Regions from separate parts of the Homo sapiens genome. Here all the other regions are linked to region 2. The links are contacts of gene promoters, found by promoter capture Hi-C in human tissues and cell types (Jung and others, 2019). All regions are on one chromosome and are shown on one strand. The core of a region is centred on a gene start or on the middle of the fragment in contact, and the rest is flanking DNA. Distances in the headings are between cores, read along the strand shown. Region 1 has its middle 68 kb from the start of GRIA4. Region 2 holds the start of GRIA4 (glutamate ionotropic receptor AMPA type subunit 4). Region 3 overlaps GRIA4 (glutamate ionotropic receptor AMPA type subunit 4).

Region 1 (4,270 bases), core at 286-2,785, 67 kb after region 2:
TCCAATTTGAACTTGATGGCTCTCAGTATTAGCAAACTTTACTTTGCAGCTTATCTGTATTTTCAATATCCATATATTAATTAATTTTTATTTAGTCCCTCAGGTAATAGTTTCTTCCCCTCTACAGTGCCTTCTGCCCGGACGAAACTGTTTTGCTTCTGCCACAGGATTACGCACCTTCAAAATAATATTATAAGATGAGAATCACCCATAAAAGTATTTTAGTTCTTTACATTACTTTAAAAATCTACTCACCTGAGTCAGCATTTTAAGTACAGTCAATTTGCTTATGTTCTCATATATTATCTTCAGCTATATTTTAGTACAATGAGTTTCAAAACTGTGATGTTTGCAGAATTCATCTAGGGCATTGGTAAAAAGACAGGTTCTTAGGCAATCCAAAACATTTCTAGCCAATAGCTCTTAGGAAGAGTTGAAATGCCTAAATTTTCATTAAGGACCCTGTGTAATTATGATGCTGGTGATAGTATTGTCTCTGGAGCAAACTTTGAAAAATTTGGATCCTCACCGTTTATCCTTCATAAATCTTTTCATGCAGTAGAGTCAAGAATTTAACTTTAAATACCACAAAATATCAAATATCACAGTGATAGTTGTAAATTCAGACGTTTTTCTTGTGTGTGGTGACATGATACTCTTACCAGTGCAAACCCTTATTTCACCCCAAAATTATATATTGAAATTCACATTGAGAAATTATATTTGAGTATTTATAAAATTGTTCATGATCTTATATAGTACACTATTCATTATTAAGGATTTAATTGATATGCTGGCTAATTATGATATTACATAATTACTAATTAATGTGCTTATTAGCAATGGATGTCTCTAAGATCCTGATGTCAACGGAGATGACAACTCATGCTGGAATACTGCCTTACAAGATAAAGTACATTAAGCCAAGCTCCTTTTGGCAATTCAGAATCTAAATGTTATTGCCTGGAATCCAGGATACAATTGCCTTATTATAGCAAACTCTGGCCTGTAGTAAATCCAATTAAAGCATATTTCTAGTTTACTTTAAGGCTTAATTGTAGTGCATTTAGTTATAAAGCTCAATACATCAAAGAATCAAAGTTCAAAACAATAAAACCAGAAGAAGGACAAAAAAAATGATAAAAAGGATAAAAATACAGCTCTTATTAGTAAAGATTAGACTAATACAATCTTCAAATTAGAAATCACCTTTGTGGTTGTCCAGTATCATCTGCTTTACAAAGAAAGAATTTCCTTTTTGTAGTCATCCATTTTCTAAACATGGCCAGAGGCAAGGAGGGATCTAATCCATGCTTCTCTTGAAGTAGTCTTATCTCCTGGTAGATAGCAGTAAACATTAGACCTATCTTCCTTATATTTAACCAAAGATGGCATTCCTATACTTTTCTAACTGGAATTGATCATGAAATAACTCTGTATCCTATCTCTTACGGCAGGAGGGGTAGAGGTGGGGATATGTGGAGTGGGCTGAACTAACATTAATATTTTATCTTGTGTACTAGATATTTGAAATGTATTGAGAATTTCTCTTTTTATTTGATTCTGTTTTATTTGATTCGACTATGAAGAAGATATCCACATCCACCCCCAGCCGTAATTTAGAGATACAGAGTCTATGACTTGGAGAAGTTAAACAGCCTGTTCATGGTCATAACTTACAGGGATGAGAGTCAGACTAGAACCTGGATCAATTTAATTAATCCTTTTAGTTAATCCTTTTAACTTCTTCAGTTACTAATGGATTGAGAGCTGTCAATCAGCCTTTACTTCTTTACATCTATTATATTGTTGGGGCTCATAAGATAATACCATAATGCTGAACACTTTTGAAATAAAATTCCCACCCACCCCTAAGAATCTCATTAAATAACCAGGAAATATTAACCTCCAGAGAAGACAAAAAACTAAAAGTCCTCACCATATCCAGGTAGACTTTTCATCTATTCTAAGACCAGCCCCAAGAGATTATCTGGGAGAGTTTATCTTCATAATAAGACCTTTGTTCACAGTGCAGTTCCACCCCTCATCTTTCCTATGACTTGCAGGTCCCATTCAGTCCAAAGAGAATAATTTACAAACTATTGTCTGCTCTTTGGGCCCATTCATCTCTTTTAAAAATAATTTAATACTTCTCAAAAACGGCTTACATTCTCCAATCTCCCTTCCCCCATGAAGAGGGTTCTACTTAAGTTTCATTCATCTGGGCCTTCTTTGAGTCTCATCTTCTGTATTGCTCTTCTGCTTACGCACATTAATGCATTTGTATGTCTTTTCTTCTATTAAACCATCCATTGTCAGCTTATTTCACCAGGCTTCAGTCCTCAGAGTAGGAGGGAAAATTCTCTTTACCCTTAAATTGTACCATGCACTATTTTAAGTACTGAATATGTACTGGTGAACAAATCACATAGTTTCTAATTTCAAAACATTTATTCTCTAGTGGAATAAACAAATATAAACTATGTATAAAATATAGGTTAACAAAGATCATATAAATGCATCAGTGATAGATACTGTGAACGAAATAAAGAATGAATAAGTAGGGAAACATTTAGGTAGAACTCTCGAGGAGTTTTTTCACAGAAAGTAACATCTGAGCTGGGGCCTCAGGGAGGAAGTTGGCGGGAGGAAGGAGTAAGAACATTCCAAGAACAATTTCAAATGTGAAACTTTATTTCAAAGTTTGAAAGCTGGTAAAAACCATGCTCAAGGAATTGAAACACCACCAATGTGGCTGAAACAAAGCGCCTAAAGGGGAGAGTGGCTAGGAAGGCAGGCTTCCTAAATCAAGGAATTATCTACCGCTCACTCTCCTCCCTACCACTTTTCTTAAACATTTCTCTACGGCAGTGATTACCAAGTAGCCCAATGCCTGACCTTCTGGGAGTCACACAGCCTTCTTCATCATAATCAACACTCATTCTCAGAATCTCAGTGCCGTAACTCTTCTGTTCTGGGCGATACCAAGTTCAATTTTAACGAAGCTCTTTTAGTTCCAAGAAACAGACACAGCCAGACCAGTCTGAAAATTTTTATTTTCTGAAAAATGTAACTTGTAAGAACACACGTAGAGCAAAAGGGAGAAACTTGGAAATTTTTACGCAAGTAAGCCAGGCTGAACCTCCTAATGCATGAGGACTGGGCTGGTCCTTGTTTCACAGGGTGGACTCTAGAGTCGTCCTTGCATCCCAGAATTTGAGACCTAATCCATGATTAATCTTGAAACTGCTCCAGTGTGTTTGAGAGAACAGGCATTCTCTAACTGACGCAAAGTTGTATGTATGTCCATTTATATTAAGCTTAATTATATTGCCCCAAATTTTCTATAACTTTCCTAATTTTCTGTATTGTACTTATCAATATTTAGGAGAGAGATTTATTGAAGTCTCTCATTCCAATGGTAGATGTGTCAATTTTCCAATTTAATTTGTATTAATGTTTGCTTTATATCATATGAACCCATTTTATTATTTGGAGATATTTAGAATTGTTATAGCTTTACAGTAAGTTAAATGTTTTTATAATCTAATAACTTTCTTTCCAATATCGATTTTATTTAAAAATTGAAATATGTAATATTAATATTCCTATGCAAGTCAGTGTTTGATTAGTATTTCTGTATAGTATCATTTTCCTCTATAATTTTCTTTTTAATCTTTCCATGTGTTTATATTGAAGGTTTGTATTTTGTTAATATTGTTAGTTTTTATTTTTTAAATCTAAGAATCTCTGTTGTTTAACTGGCAAGTTTATATTTATTACCATTATTGATATATTTTTCTCTATTTAAAATGATTTAACAGAACCCAAAATCTTAAACTAGTTTTAATGTAGGTATCATTGATTGCTAATGGGGAGAAAAGAGAGGTATATTCATAGCTTTGTGTTTTCTGATAACTCTTTAAATTAATATAATTATTAAATTTATTCAACCTTTTTTTTTTGGTGACAGCCTGTCACCCAGACTGGAGTGCAGTGTTGCAATCACAGCTCAACCTCTCAGGCTCAAGTGATCAACCCAAAGTAGCTGGGACCACAGGTGTGCACCACCATGTCCTGCTAATGTTTTTTTCTTAATTATTTTGGTGGAGCCAGAGTCTCATCATGTTGCTCAGTCTGATCTCAAATTCTTGGGCTCAAGGAATCCACCCCCTGCCTGGCCTCCCAAATTGTTGGGATTATAGGTATGAGCCACTGCATCTGGCTTATTCAATCTATTTTTAAGTTCACCTTTGTCTACTTAATAAAG
Region 2 (4,490 bases), core at 1,821-4,320:
GAATAATAGATAAAGCTGGGTTGGTTGGTGAATTCAGGTGGATGGGAGCCTAATGTGATTTGGCATCGAGGTAAGGATTCATGGAGTTATATCCACAGGATATATGCATTATGTGATAGTAAGAGACATTTACACCCCAGAATATAAGGGCAGGGCAGCCTCAAGTGACATCACCAGATCATCTGCAGCGTCAACCAACCGACTCAAATATATATCCTCCACACCACCACTCCCCTCTTTTTCTCACTATTAGCAAGCCTTCCATAGTCTTCATGTTTCTTCTTTAAAAGCAAGACCTATGCTTACTCAAGTGAAAAGCAAATAAGAAAAACCAAAGGAAAAGAATAAAAAACTAGCTTGAGTACAATTTTCACTAAATTGACATTCGGATGATAGGAATAACACTAAAATGTTAAAGGAAAATTTAACTTGAATGATCTAGACAGATAATGAATAAAAGAGAAAGTCAGGAAGAAGCAAAGAGAGGGAGGAGAAGAAAGAAAAGAAAAATAAATTAAGGAAAAGAAAAAAAAAACAACTAAATATCCCTGAAACGAAGTCTTGTTTTTAACTCTGATTTGTCCTGAAACCAGGCAACTGTGGGAATCTTGAAATTCTTTCTAAAAAAATTAAATAACAAAGAGGAAGAGGACTCCATTGCTTGGTTTCAGTTCTCTTCTAATTTTTCATAGCTTATGTTTTACTTACAGGCGTTTGTTACAGCAAAACTGTTGGCTGTCTCAATGTTGTCCACATGAGGTACCAAATTAAAAGGAGCTTCCGACGCATTGGGGCTGGTGTTATGAAGAAAAATTGCTAATCGAAAAGCAGTGTATTCCTGATCTGTGTTTCGGATGAAGAGACCACCTATTAAAAACAGCAGGAAAAGCACATTCACTGTTTCCTCTTGTCAACATTATACCCACCCCAAGCACAGTCAAATCTACTGCCATTCACAAGCACATACAATTAAAGAGCTATACCTGCCACATCTAGGGAGACTGCCCTTTGTCCCTAAGGTGCATGCTTAGTATTTAGTCTTTAGAGCAGCTCAGCTTTTTCTTGTCCTAATGTGTCTTGCTCACAATGACCTCTGAGACCATTTAGTGAATGTTCCTTTCTCTCCCTTGCCCTCCCCCTGATTCCCAGCACACTGCTACATCAGCCACCTCAGGGCAGCTCTCTCTAAGATGCATGCAGATGAGCGGAAAAGAGATTTACATTAAAATACGGAAATGAAGGGATATAGTGCCACACAGGGAAGAGGGAAATCAGAAAGAAGAAATGAACTTTATTTTCCTCCAGCTCGTGGACTCAGCCTAATTAACTCCGTTTTATGCACAGTCCACGAGAAATGATGCAGTGTTGAGGCTGGGCTTAGCTGGAAGAAATTCAATAGCTGCGTCCCATTAAAAGACAGTAGAGGAGAATAGCAAGAAAAGCCAAGGATGGAGGGTGTCCCTGGAAACAGAGTCGAGGTAGAGAAATAAGGGCAAAAGCTTCAAGAAGAAAACAAAATAAAAGGGGAGAAGCTTCCAGGAAAGGGATCTAACTTTGGAATCTGCTAACTGGTAGCAAGAAACGGCAGGGCGTGCGGGTGGAAATGTCTTTTTCCTCAAACAGTGTCTTTCTGTAATAGCAAGAAAGCTGCGGCGTCCAGAATGGGAAGAAGTGGATTTTTTTTTTCTTTTTTAAACAAACTCGACATCACTTTATGCTTTAGAGAAAGGGATGGAAATAAATATCATATAAAATACAACCAAATTCCCCGAAGACTTTCCCCCAACTTATTTCAATCCTACTTAAGCGACTATAGGTAAAGGTGGAAATAGGGCTATGGGCTGAGAACGCATGGGTGGGCTGCCCTGGGTGTATTCCAACGGAACCTGCACTAAAGAGGAAGTCTTTTTGCAAAGGAGAGAAAGGAAGAGGAGGGAAACAGAGGGGAAGGGAACTGCTGAAGGTTTCCCTGAATTGCTTATCAGCAACTCATTTAACTCACTTTCGGATATCTGCTACAACCAGCCACATGCACACCCCATCGGAGCACACCTTACCTATTTGCACGCTGCTCGGAAAGGCTCCCATGGCGAGTCCCCAAAATCCAGAAAATAACAAGACAATCTGTCTGGAAATAATCCTCATCTTCTTTTCTCCTCTCCCTGGCGCGCGCTCTCTCTCTTTCTCTCGCACTCTTCCTAAAGGCTGTTCAGAGAAGCATTGAAGACGATGGCGCTAAAATTAAAATCAACCAAAAAAAAAAAAAAAAAAAGAAAAGAAAGAAAAGAAAGAAAAAAAAGGAAAGAGGTTTCGGTGGTTTAAGATTATGACTAGTTCTCCTTAGCAATCCATCGCGAGCCGCCAGATTTTTCCCGCAGTCTCCATAGCCCTGGGAGAGGTTTTCTGTCCGGCTGCAAATGTTGCACATGCAAAAGATGGTGGTGGAGCGTCTAGTGGCTGCTCGCAGGGATGAGACATGCGCTCTATCTTTGCCTCACTCGCACTCGCGCTCGCCCCTTGCTTTCTCACATACACACAAACACTGGCGCCGCGGCCGCCACACGCGCTCTCCAGCTCGCATCAGCCGACATCCCCCAGCAAGCCTGCACCAGCCCGGAGCATCGCTGCCCTCCTGGCGTCCCCTCCTCGAGCGCGCACTCCCTCCGCACGCCCCTCGCCCACCGCTCGGCTGGCTTCACCCCCTGGGTGCTCACCGGAGCGCCCCAGTCTCCCGGACGCTCCGGAGCCAGTCTGGTGTCAGGTTTTCCCTTCTGACCACTCGCTGACTCCCTCCTCTTTTCTTCCTCGGTTCGCAGAGGGACCGACTCTGGGGATGGGCACCCCCAGCGCCCCTCTCTTGGTTTTCCTGGCACCTCTGCTTCTCGGCTGCGCTAGGCAGAAAATCCGCCCACGGGCCAGGTCTGCAAGCCCCAATCGGGGGCTCCGGGGGGTTAGTACCTCCCCATGCCCCCAGGCCCCTGCCGCATCCTTGCAGGTTCGTGAGGAGGACGGGCTGCCTCCCTCTCCTACAGTCCTGGCTTCCCTCTCAGCCTAGCCCTCTTCTGCCACTGGGCTGCGCGCGGGGGACTCCGGTCCTCGCTGCAGCAAAGATTTCTCACCAGCAAACAGCCCGGGAATCTGGAGAGCCTGACAAGGGAATGGATGAGGTGAAAGGGTTCAGAGAGGGATGGGAGGAGAAAAGACAGGCAAAGGGCAGCCCCTGGCGGGTTTAAGAGGCCAGGACCAGGATGAAAGAATTGGAGGAGGTAAGGATGGGGAAGAGAGCCAGAGAAGTTGAAACATCCTGGGAAGGGGAGGAGGGGGTAAAAGGTTATTTTAAATAACTGACGAAGTTTAGGGTACTGAACGGGATGGGGAAAAGACTGAGAAATGAAAATTGAAAGAGGCCTCTAACATTCTCTTGGAAAGGCATGAAGCAGGGATAGGAATAAGAACTGCGTGAAGTGTAAAGTAGGAAAAGTGATTAAAGATTCGATTGCTTTCTATACAGTCACCCATTCCGGAGGACTCTTTCCTTCTGTGCTGTGGCCCATTGCAGGAGCAGGAGGGACACAGCGCAAAGGCTGATGAAGGACCAGAGGGGCAGTGCTTGGGGCAGTGGGCACAGGTGTCTGACAGGAAGATAGTGTTTCGTGCACATCTCCTCTTGTCTGGGACTCTGGAATGCTCACTCTGCTCCACGCCACCTCCAGGTAGACTTAAGCACTTCAGTGATGATGTCAATAGTTGTTTTGACTGGGTAGAAGTGAAAATGAATTATCCTAGAAAGTTTTGGGGTTACAGTCTCACTTGCTCTCCAGAGTCACCTTTAAGATTGTCCTTTCATCTGCCTGTCCTGGACTGAGCTTGAACCACACTCAGAAGCAGTCACTGTGGTAGCCGTGAGTGACCGGTTTCTGATTTCCTCTGTATGGTTTGAGATTTCCTGATCTAGTTAGTAAATACAATCTCCTGTTCCAATAAGCTGTGTGAGAGAATCATTAGAAGGAGAGGTTCTCCTTAAACGTTAGGGAACCTAGGGTGATGTCTGCCATTAAATTTTTAAAAAGAATATAGCAAATGCCTAGGTTTGCCTGATATAATATTTGAGACTACAATGCTTAAAGTGGAATTCTTGCAAGGGACTTACAGAAAGCCTGGTAACGGCTTTTTGAAATATACATTACCTTAACTCTTTCAAAATACTTTATTTGGTGTCACTGATTACCTGTATTTGTAGTTTGTAGATGACATTTTAAAATCCCTGCTAAAACTTGAGTGCTTTTCTATTTCCTAAGTTTTGAATTTTATTTTTAAAATTGCATCTTTAAAATAAGTGTCTGCTTTCCCGTTACATTTCACCACAGATTGTTATGAAAAAAAAAACCTAATTGTAACTGTATTTTACAAATCATACATTTGTCATTTTAGTTTGTGAAGTTTTAGTCTTGCAAGTCAAGTGAAATTTGAAGCATTTTTCCTTTTTTTAT
Region 3 (4,396 bases), core at 985-3,484, 110 kb before region 2:
AACTCTGATGTAAGCTCATTCATGCCTGACTCCCTACCTTGTTTCCCCTGGCTTGTTCCAAACTCCTAAGTAAGCAGCTGATTGGAATTGACAAGAATCCTGCTCAAGGAGCCTCAGCAAGCACAAATCTTTTCCATTTCAATACTCTGGTAGCTCAAAGGAATGAGCTGCCAAGGGAGCAGTGGAATGGAAAATCATGCGTGCATTCCCTCTCCTTCCGTGAGTATCCACATTAACAGTAAACTTTGGCCTTCAAGTAGCTCCTTTTAGGAGGTGTTCCTTAACTAGGTCGAGACACCACCATTACCACCATGAACCCAATGCATGTGTTAGGTAATTGTTCCACCTACAGTGGACTGAAATTAGTTTCCTCATTCTTTTCTATTTGTAGTATCATGAGACAGCAATCGTTTTCTGTTGTAATTTATATGGGTTTTAAGGTCTTTGAATGCTTCTCCACCTCCCTCAAATATCCATCCATTTATTCATCCAGTGAATCAAATTTGTTGACATTTGCTTTACGCAAAGCATCACAACAGCTGAGGTGGGAGGAGATTGTGCTTATGGTACGATAATATTGGTACCTTTGTCTGGAGCCTCACTCTCCATTACAGGCATCAGTCATCTGTGAATTAAACCAAGGATCTAAACATGCCCCCTTAAAATAATTACACTAATGAAAGCTTGGAAGAGCTTAATTGGCTGATCCTCAGTCAGTGCTACACATGTAGTCTATATACTTGTGTGACCACACCTAATTCTATACATTGGCTTCATAGGTTGTTCTAGCCTTAAATATTTTAAGACTCAGTGTTTACTTTTTCCATATTCTGGGCTTATGTTTGAGGTGAGCCATAGTAAATAATTTTGGTTTTAATTTTAGAGCACTGTTAGCCAACCAATGATCCATTTCTTTTTTCAAGAGAACAAAGCCTCATTGTTCAGTTCCCACCTATGAGTGAGAATATGCGGTGTTTGGTTTTTTGTTCTTGCATAGTTTACTGAGAATGATGATTTCCAATTTCATCCATGTCCCTACAAAGGGCATGAACTCATCATTTTTTATGGCTGCATAGTATTCCATGGGGACTGTTGTGGGGTGGGGGGAGGGGGGAGGGATAGCATTGGGAGATATACCTAATGCTAGATGACGAGTTAGTGGGTGCAGCGCACCAGCATGACACATGTATACATATGTAACTAACCTGCACATTGTGCACATGTACCCTAAAACTTAAAGTATAATAATAATAAATAAAAAAAAAGAAAAAAGAGAGAACAAAGGCTGTACTTAAAAATCTTCGTTTAACTCTATGTTATGTCTTTTCTTTGTTGTAAGTCATTGCAAGACGACTTGAAAGTTGGGAAAATTTATTACCATTGGAATTTGTACTTCTCTCCCCTGGAATGACTATTCCTCCCTTCCAAGAAAAAAAAAACTTGTAAGAATGTCTTTTTAGAAATTCAGAAACATATATCATGGGATTAATTAAAGAGTCTCACTGAGACAGAATCTTGCTTTTGGAGAGATAGTGAGATTTAGCTTTATTTCTTGTTGTCTAAGGGCGTATAATTAAGAGTTTGCTAAGAAAATAACTGCTAGAGTGGCTTAGGTAGGAGCAGAATTCCCATTAAGATTTTTTTTTTCTTTTTATGCTTTTAGGGCAAATATGGTATATTTATAGTCACAGAGAAAAATTAGCTGGTATGGAGCTTGCCATGCTCTGAAATGAAAGAATGAATTTTAAAAGGTGGTTTATGAAACTGGACATGCTTGGACTGGGATTTCAGGAATTCTTAGCTCCAATCCACCTTTTCTAGTGACTCATTCTATGGAGATGAAGATAATGTTAACCTCATTTTCAACATAAGGGGAAAATATTCACTTGTTTGGGATATTCTGAAGATTAATGAATAAGTTATCACGGAGGACTTTGCTAAGATAAACCTCCATGTAACACTGAATAATAAGGATTGCAGAGAGTAAGAAAAGGCAAAGACTCAGTTTCTCCTTTTTTCTTTTTTTATGGATTAGAGCAACTGCCTATCAAGTTGTAAAACGTGAGAACAATTTGCTCTTCTAAAAGTAAGGCATCGAGGTAATTTAAATTATAATATAGTATATTCTCTAGTTAAAGATTAGAGTCCATCTGAGAGTGAAGTTTTTGATCATTCCCCACTTTTACATAATGTTTGCCCCCTGCTACATACCGATGTTTCTGCTGAGTTATGAAACTTCATAATAGGATGTGTCTAGAGAAAATGGTTAAATTGATGTTAAGTGCAAACTATTCTTCTCTAGGGAATTATATTGCTTGCATTGATACGTTGTTAATGATGTATAGAGTTTTCTGTACAGTGATGATGTGTAGCTTAGGAGTCTCTGCAAAACTGTCCACCAATTGCTTTCTAACCAGAGTTATCAGAAATAGGACAGCACACTGTGTTACAACTTAGATAATTTAGGTTTTCAGTGATTGTGATACATTTTATTTTAGGAAACTAAATTTTTCATTCCATTTTAACCACTGTATTATCATTTAAAATTGTTCAAATTAAGGAACTTGAGAATACAGTTATAAATAAAACAACTAAAAGTAATTTGAATTATATACATTATCAAATAAGCTAGAAGTAAGTATATTACTTTACTATGTAAATAGGAGCTGTTTTATTTCTTTCTTCTGTGTTATTGCAAAATTTACATTTAATAGTAGCTAAAATGTGTTCCACAAGATATAATGGTTTCTTGTCAATCTGGGATCCTTCAATTCATTCCAAAACCTCTGTATGTGTTTATAGATAAGTTCTTGCATATGTGAAAAAAGGGTTGGTTGCAGTGGATAAGAAACTTTTAAACTTTTAGGGAAATTACAGTCATGTCTAATATAAAATTATGCTTTTTACTATGCCAAGGCTAATTGCATTTTAGTTTGTTATTTTTAATGTTTGTAACAGAGCCCTGTATGTCTACTTTCCTCTTCTTCCTGGGCCTCACTTGCAATTAGTTGCAGCTGAGTGATTAAGTCTTTCCCGTTGGGCATTGAGTAGAAATAACGTGGGCCATTTTCAGGCCTGACACATTTCACCTACAGTGTGTACTTTGTACTTGTTTTCCTGTTAGCCGAAGGCAGATGACATGGATGCTTTAAAGGATGGTAGCGCCACGAGATGAAGGGACCCTGGGTCCCTTAAGACAAAGTGGAGAGAAACCCCAACCCCATTGAATTGAAAACCCACTGTAGAGTTATGACTTCTCCTTTAATCATCCTTAATTCTTTGGGTCATTTTGTTACTGCAGCTTAGCCTATTCTAACTAGTACAGAATTACATTCTTTAAAATCCTTTTTGCTCGTCTAATACACAAATATATTCTATTATCTAAAAACTGGCTCAAATTTGGTATTTTCTGTAGCCTTTCTTAATCTTTTGTATTGATATTAATGACCTCTTCCTGGTCTGACTTCTTGTACTAATCATTTGACTATTAATGAGAGAGCAACATCTATCTGTAGGCTTCTTGGTCATCAAAACAAAAAGGGAAACATAGACAGTTACATAATTTTATTTTCAGTGGGGATTAAGCATAACAGGTCCTGGTTGGAGGTTAAAGATATATCTCTAGTACTAAATTCTAAAAGATGTTTCAAACATAAGACTTAATATAGGGAAGGTAGTCATATAATAGAAAATGTCCTCAACAACGTGCCTTCAGCAAGTGTAATGAAAAGATGTAATAGTATGGTTACAGCATCTTTTGATTATGACCATTGTCATGATTGGCAACTCCTCAGAATGCTAAGGTAACATGTAGCAAATAAGTGATTGCTGTTTATTGACTACGCTGATTTACACTGATTTGAAAGTCCACTTTTAGAAATTCTCCATAAGATATAATCGCTGTTTTTTTCAGATTTTTAAAATGATGATTTTGTTGCAATCAATTGTGATTGTTATTGCCATCAAGTCTGGCCTTGACTGTAGATTCACAGTTACTGGTTGAAGGTGAAGCTCTTACACTGGAGACCAGAAAAGCTGATGGTTTGACTGTCATCCTTTTGTGGACATTAGTGAACCTAACCTAGACCCTTTACTAATCGAAGTCTCTCAGAGACACCTGCAGAAACAGCCAGAACACACACACACACGAACACACACACACACTCTTCTGGGTCTGTCCCAACTGAAGACCTAAAACGGCTAAAGATCAAATAATTATTCTGTTCAGTATAATTAATTTACATTTCTAAAACAGATGTTGTCATCATAATTTAATAAATATCTTTATTGGCCTGTCTCGTTTCAGCAATATAGGGTCTTGGTGAATCTGAATAATATAATTATTTGAAAATATATCTCCTAAGATGATTTTACTAGAAATGAATCCATTACATTT

The links. Contacts are between HindIII fragments. The study calls those that stand out against the background at their distance.
Region 1: a fragment that was not itself captured here is called in contact with the fragment with the promoter of GRIA4 in region 2 in 3 of the 25 tissues and cell types used here (heart left ventricle, lymphoblastoid cells and mesenchymal stem cells).
Region 3: a fragment that was not itself captured here is called in contact with the fragment with the promoter of GRIA4 in region 2 in 3 of the 25 tissues and cell types used here (adrenal gland, dorsolateral prefrontal cortex and hippocampus).

What each region holds. Positions count from the first base shown.
Region 1 is chr11:105,540,049-105,544,318 of GRCh38, reverse strand. It overlaps a transcript of LOC105369468 not described here. Among named protein-coding and RNA genes, the nearest start is that of GRIA4, 68 kb to the left of the region's middle. The HindIII fragment of the contact is 5,063 bases long and covers 1-4,066 here.
Region 2 is chr11:105,608,653-105,613,142 of GRCh38, reverse strand. GRIA4 (glutamate ionotropic receptor AMPA type subunit 4) reads right to left here and starts at 3,070. Exons shown (of 17, transcript NM_000829.4): 1 at 2,715-3,070; 2 at 2,058-2,235; 3 at 709-867. The coding sequence starts at 2,145. RefSeq lists a silencer at 1,894-2,094. The HindIII fragment of the contact is 8,669 bases long and covers 1-4,490 here.
Region 3 is chr11:105,714,575-105,718,970 of GRCh38, reverse strand. The region is part of intron 3 of GRIA4 (glutamate ionotropic receptor AMPA type subunit 4); the gene reads right to left. Among named protein-coding and RNA genes, the nearest start is that of GRIA4, 110 kb to the right of the region's middle. The HindIII fragment of the contact is 7,108 bases long and covers 1-4,396 here.